Linked DNA regions of Homo sapiens: region 1 is linked to region 2. Evidence: promoter capture Hi-C in human tissues and cell types (Jung and others, 2019). All regions are on one chromosome and are shown on one strand. The core of a region is centred on a gene start or on the middle of the fragment in contact, and the rest is flanking DNA. Distances in the headings are between cores, read along the strand shown.

Region 1 (3,265 bases), core at 434-2,933, 67 kb after region 2:
ATTCCCTAGAATCCCCCCTTTTTGCACAGCTTCTCTGGAGCTATGAAGTTCAAAGCATTGAATCCAAACTCGAAGTCCCCATTCAACCCACTCAGCCTTGACTGGGCTGATTGGATCATTGCCATTTTGATGTAGAACCTTTGCTCTCATTTTCATGTTCAATTTTCTATAGTTTCCAAGCTAGGAAGCATTTCTGTCTGTATAGAGTTGTTTGCAGGGATGAAATCAGGTATTTTATTTTCCTGGTAGACATAGTTTGAAGGGACCTCTGATGTTTGAGACCTCTAGATTCCTAGCATTTTGATGGCAGAAACTGTGGTTTTCTTATCTCTGAACTTCCAGTGCACTGCAAAGTTCTGGGCATATATTGGTGCTTAATAAACCCTGTTAAATGAATAAACAAATGATTTTTTCTTTATTACACCCCCATTTCAGTAGCATGGAATTATGAGGATGATTTTGCCAAATTATGAGTAGGTCCTATTAGATTAGGTTTTTCTACAGGAAATTATTCTTTCAAACTACAGTGTCTAGGAAGTACCTTGCACAAAATAGACACAGGATGCATAATTGTTGATTAATTAGTTCATTTTAACCTATACACCTTGGGGTTATCTAGTTATGTTTTCATGAAAACTAGGGCTTTGTAATATCAATGTCATGTCTAATAAGCCTAAATTTCCAGTTCTAAAAACAAAGTTATTCAACAACACTTTCTCAATTTGATGTGTTTTTCTTTTCCTGAAATAATTTTTTTCTTAAGCTTTTGATATTTGCTTTTGTGCTGACATTTGATAGTCAAAACTCAAACGATCTCAAGTACTTCTTTCTCAGCTCAATAGGATCATGTTTCGCTTAACATTTGTGAAGTTGATTTATCTAATTCATTTTGATCTTGCTAAAATATGACCTTTAAAATTTTTCATGTCACATTGTGACCCAGAAAGACCAAATACATACATGAGATCATAGTTTTACCTGATAATATCACTCCTAGTTTGATGATGGAATTAATTTGTCAATATTTCATGGAGTTCTGCTGAAACGATTGCAATTTCTTGGGCAAGTTTCAGAACGACTAGTATATCTGTGGTCATGTCATCTTGGGTCATGTTAACCAGTTCCATTGGATTATCATGCTGTTCCCTTGTCTGACAAAAGGATCTTTGTGAAAGCACACACTGTTTCTTCCCATAACTCACATTCAATTCCAGACCCTGAATTTCTGCTTGCTCACTGTGAGCCATATTGTTGAGATTGTCTGTGCATAGGCAACTTGAGCAGGTTTGGTTTGCCTTTCTGGAATATATTTTTTGGGGAACAAAAGGAGAATATCAAAGCAGAGTTATTCCAGAAGATCATTTTTCTCTTTTCCTTTTTGTTTTCTTAAATGGGAAAAAAACAGCTCTTAAGGTTCTTATTATTTATTCATTCATAAAACATGTATTTTGTCTATGTCTATACTGATAAAGACAACTTACTAGATGTTAGACAATCAATACTTCCCTACTACTGATCAATACAAACCCAATCTCTGCTGTCCTGGTCTTATGATCCAGCAGGGAAGCTAGACTGCCTGCCTATGGTTTAGGAAATAATACAAGCTCCAATCCTTTCTAGGTTATTAAAAGAATCTAAGGTAGTTCCTCCAATTTTGGATCAATGGTAAATACTTTAAGGTAGAACTCCATTGAGTTGCTGGAAAATGCATCATCTATTGGTAAAATACTTAAGATAGTAAGTTCTTCAAGAATACTAATAAGTAAGTTAAAAAATTAATTGGCGCATATGTGGAGAGTATGACTCACTCTCCTTTATTGTTGGTTTCCAGTAACTCATGTACATAAAGAAGAGCATAGTAACATGTTGGATGTTAGGCAGGTGATCATCTCAAGTGAAAGATTCCAGGAAGATCAGGATTCAATAATCAAGCCCTCAGGAAGGGGCATAGGGTTTCTTAGGTTGTAATCCCCACTGGCACTTTCAGCCATATTGAAGGAGTGGGGAAAAGGCCCAAATAACCCATGCCCTTTGTCCTTCAGATTGCCAGCATGTCAAATGGAAGCCCGTGGGGCTTCATGTCTGATGCATTGAGCATTCTGGTATATTTCCCATCTCAGACTTCAAGGTCTACACCCATCCATTTATGGGGCTCTCCATAAAAAACACCCTTCTGCTGCTCACAATGTCTGCCCTTGGCCTGGGACTTTGGGCTTTGGTTCTAAGTTCCTAAAGTCAGGGGTCAAGCTCTAATCATTACTGTATTCTGAGCTTTTTGTACAGTAACTGTTGACATGTGAGTTGAAAGGAACCTATCTCTGAGGAAGTGATTCCTCTCTCCAACATAGTGCCAGACTCTCGTATTAGGAAATGATGAAACCATCAACCAAATGTCTGCCATAGCTACTGTGGCTCTTGACAAGACTGTGAGGGAGAATAGCAGTGTCAGCTGCATACAGACATTTGTTTAGGTCATCTGGATTATCTTGATTGTCACCATGGCAACTATCCACAACCAGTGCCTAGGTGTGTGAGAAGAGTGATACAATAATACTGTGGCATGGTCATTTAGCTAATTCAGTCTAAGCCTAACAGAAACCTTTTCCATCAAAGTTTTTCAGAGAATAACAACATCTCATAAGAGGCCAGAGGATGGCTTGTGCTTAATATCACACCTGTACAGTAGGGCAGTGCTTCCCAGGCTGTCTGCTTACATTTTAGCTTGTCTTACGGTTACATATGGTTTTAGTATTTTCATTTAAAAAATCTGGGTTGGTTCCATAAATTTGGAAAAGTAAAATTGGACGGTTCTGGAAATTTTGCCTGTTTACACATCTGTAAATGTAGCTTGCTTGCATTATTTTTTTCTAGATCTGAAATGCATTGCATCAAGCAAGCATGTTTTGCAATAAAAGTGGAAATCCCCCTCCTGCTGGATAAACTGGGTGCTTTCCACGCGACACAAAGTCATATATCTTGACACAATCTCTAGGATGCATTATATAAATGGAAGAATGGTGTGGTGAGGGGAAACAAGGTCAGGGAGAGTGGGCAGACCTGACTTTTGAGTCCTGGTTCTCTATGGGACAACTGAGTGACTCTGGGTATGTCACTTTACCTGAGCCTAAGATTCTTCATTTATAAAAGGAAGTCCTTGGACTAGAAAATTTCTGTGTGCCTTCTTGACTTTAATTTCTATTTTAGATGGATATTTTGTACTTCAGTATCATGGGAAGAAATGAGAGTTGGAAATTCATTTTAAAGG
Region 2 (3,235 bases), core at 519-3,018:
CTGTACACTTAAAAGTGGCTGACATGGTCAATATTATGTATATTTTACCACAACTTTTTAAAAAGTAAGTAATAATCTTCATGACCTTATTCCTTTAAACACAACATTTCATGGATTAGGTCATTCTTTGTGTCAGGTGTTCCACTGAGCATGCCCCACTTGCTGTCTGGTGACAACCCTCCAAGACTTTGGCTATCAAGACGTCTCACTTTCTAGACCAGGAAACTGGGCTCAGAGGGTGAGTCACTTGCCAGGGTGGCCCTTGCCCAGAAGGGGGCGCTCTGGCAATGACCAGACCCAGGTGGGCCAGTCTGACTTGTTCTGGCTCCAATACCCTAAACTGCTAGGCCGGTCCTTTGAGACAAACTAAGCATTCCAGTGATGACTCACTGCGTAACTGTCACAATTATCGGTAGTACTTGCTTGGGAAGACCCTTAGGGTGGCCAGCTTCTTGCTAGGGTGTGGTGAAACACAGCAGGTGACAGCTTCCTTGCTGCGCACAAAGAAGGAAAGTCAGTGCCAGCTAGAAGGTGCCAGTTAGAAGCACGTGGTCAGCCCTGGGCAACAGTGAGGATGACCCGAATCTGGGGTACGTGCACATTAGGGTACGTGGGTGGGATGGTGTGGGGCTGCTTCTGAAATCCAGTATCCTCCTGTTGGCCAAGTCAGGCGCCCTTGGCTGTGGGGCTGTGTCTACCTGGAGGAAAGACCTCCTTCTCCTAATTTGCCCAAGGAAGTCTCTGGGGCTGTCGTGGCCTCATGGGTCAGTGCTGTCCTTGTGGGCCTGAGAAGGCTCCCGAAGCCTCGCCTTGGTCTGCATGCCAGGTTTGGAGTCCCGGCTCCCCTAGCTGTCTCCCAATGGCCGGTCTCATGGCTGCATAGCCAGTGTCTGAGCCCAAGGCCTTGCTGGTCGGACAGACCTGGGCTGGGGTCAGGGAGTTCAGGCTCTGCCTTTTGCTTGTCGAGTGCCCTGAGCCAGGCACTGAAGATGCCTGGAACTCATTTTCCTGGGCAGCGAAATGCATATAATGGTGTTTTTTCATCAGGGAATCATGAGGGTTAAATCTGATGAGTCTTATAAAGGTAGAACACCATCTCCGGCACTTGCTCAGTGCTCAGTGAGGACTGCCCATAATTAATGCTGATTGTGTTTCCACACCAGGTGCCGTGGGCGGGGTCATTGCCCAGGGCTATGTAGGATCCTCACTAATGTGAAGTGGTGGATTTTTCCCCCGGGTAAATTTGCCAGGTGCTCTCTGTCTGGCATTGCATCTTTTCACAGATCGACTCAGAGCAATTTGGGTTTTCAGCTATATCCTGGAGCAACATCCAGGTCTCAGACAGCCCTGAGAGCATCCCCTACCACCTTATCCTCCATTCATTTATCTCCTCATTTCCCCTCCATTCTTCTCTCCCTTCCTCCCTCTTTCCCTCTCTCCCTCCCTCCCTTCTACCCTCTCTTTCTCCCTCCTTTTCTTCCTTCATCAATTTCTCCTACTTTTCTTCCCTCCCCTCCTTCCTCCTACCCTTTCTGCCTCTTTCCATCTCCCAACCATTTCCCTCCCTCCCTCACTCTTTTCCTCCATCCCTCCCTCTCCCCCTCCTTCTCTTTCTCCCTCCCTTCTTCTCTTCTCCCATTCATTTCCCTCCTTTACTTGCTGTCTTCCTCCCTCCCTCCCTCCCCTGCTCTCTGTCTCCCCAACCATCAGGAATAACAGATGCCTACCGTGAAGGCTCCACTGGAGTGCAGCTGGATGAATGATGCTAGGGTTTGAACAGGTGCAGACTGAGTCCTTTATACCCCAAGGAAAGACCCTTAGCCATGTGATGCCTCTCCCCACTCCTCACATCAAGAAGGAAGCCTTTCATGAATGTTGGCAGGTGGGCTGCCTCTGAAGGGAGGAGGCATCATAATACTATAGCTTGGAACAGGTGAAGGCTCCATATTAAGAAGCCCCATCTTGAGCCTCAGAGGAGACCTCAGGCTCTAATTAGAGAACAATGGGTTCCCTGTTCTACCCCACCTCACCTCAAAGGCTAGGAGGCCCATGGATTATGTCTCAGGGTCATCATGGGAACTCTCGGGGGATGAAAGACTGATGAAAGTCATGTGGGCTCTCCTGCAAGATAAAGGGCTGGCTTTGTCTGGTCTAGTTCATTCTTTAGCAAGAGGATTTCTAGCGTGATTCTTCTTATATGTTCTTGGCCTCAGATCTCGGAATTTGATGCCTCTTTCCTTTAGGGCTTTTCTGCCCAAGCTGTGGGGTAGGGTGAGGTGGGGCTTTATAATCAGACACCCAAGGTTCCTCTGCCAGCCCTGCTACTGAGTAGCAGTGTGACCTTGAGTTTGTCACTGCTCAGCTTTAGCTTCCACATCTGTTAAATGGGCTTAATCCTACTAAGATTTCGAGGCTGAAGAAAGCCATATATAGTGTGTGGTATGGGGGCTCATTAAGTCCTAGTTCTTTTTGTCACTTCCTCATATCGCCTTGTGAAGGGTTTTCTTTCCTGATTTTGAAAGGAGAACTGGCATTTATTGAGTACGTGTAATGTACCACAAGTGTTTTATAGGATTTTGCCCTCATCATCCCTGCAGCAGCCCTTCCATTACTGCTTTCATAATCCTAGGAGCAAGGATTAATTAGCTCCACTTTACAGATGAGAAAAAATGGTGTCGTTGAGGTTGAGGCATTGTAGAAGCTCACGTGTAATGGAAGCATTCTGGAATGCAGGTTAGCCTGGCTGTGAACCCTCTGAGTTGCTCACTCTATGGCCACCTCCTGAAGAAGCAGGACTCCTCAAACGATTAAATCAGGGCACAATTGAGCCTCTATGGAAGAACCCATTGAAGGGCTTCTTCAAATAAGTAATTACTCTCATTCATTGAGGCTTGTGTTTGTAGATCATTAACTATTGTTCAGCATCTCATGTGATTTGAGGAATGAAGATGCATTGTCTGTAATATTTTCTCATTAGCACCAAAGACCCACCATCTCTAAAATGACTAAGCCCGTGGGCATCTATGGCTCAGTGCAGCAAAATCCATCTTTTCAGCATCTCAAGAGCATAGCTGAGATTGTTATTATGCTCAAGAGCATAACTGAGATTGTTATTATGCCTGAGCAATACAAAGGCATAACAATCTACATAGGTATCTTGTTCGAGACATTTCATGGGGTTTTGAGAAGGATCATTTTTTCCCATAGCTTACAACAGAGTATCTTAATCTTAGCA

Evidence for each region. The method cuts DNA at HindIII sites, captures the fragments that hold promoters and counts their contacts. A contact is called where the count stands out against the background at its distance.
Region 1: a contact is called between a fragment that was not itself captured here and the fragment with the promoter of OC90 in region 2, in 2 of the 25 tissues and cell types used here (H1 embryonic stem cells and hippocampus).

Annotation. Positions count from the first base shown.
Region 1 is chr8:132,125,148-132,128,412 of GRCh38, forward strand. KCNQ3 (potassium voltage-gated channel subfamily Q member 3) reads right to left here. Exons shown (of 15, transcript NM_004519.4): 15 at 1-3,265. Among named protein-coding and RNA genes, the nearest start is that of HHLA1, 16 kb to the left of the region's middle. The HindIII fragment of the contact is 6,054 bases long and covers 1-3,265 here.
Region 2 is chr8:132,057,614-132,060,848 of GRCh38, forward strand. OC90 (otoconin 90) reads right to left here and starts at 1,769. Exons shown (of 14, transcript NM_001080399.3): 1 at 1,728-1,769. RefSeq lists enhancers at 262-839, 840-1,416. The HindIII fragment of the contact is 9,699 bases long and covers 1-3,235 here.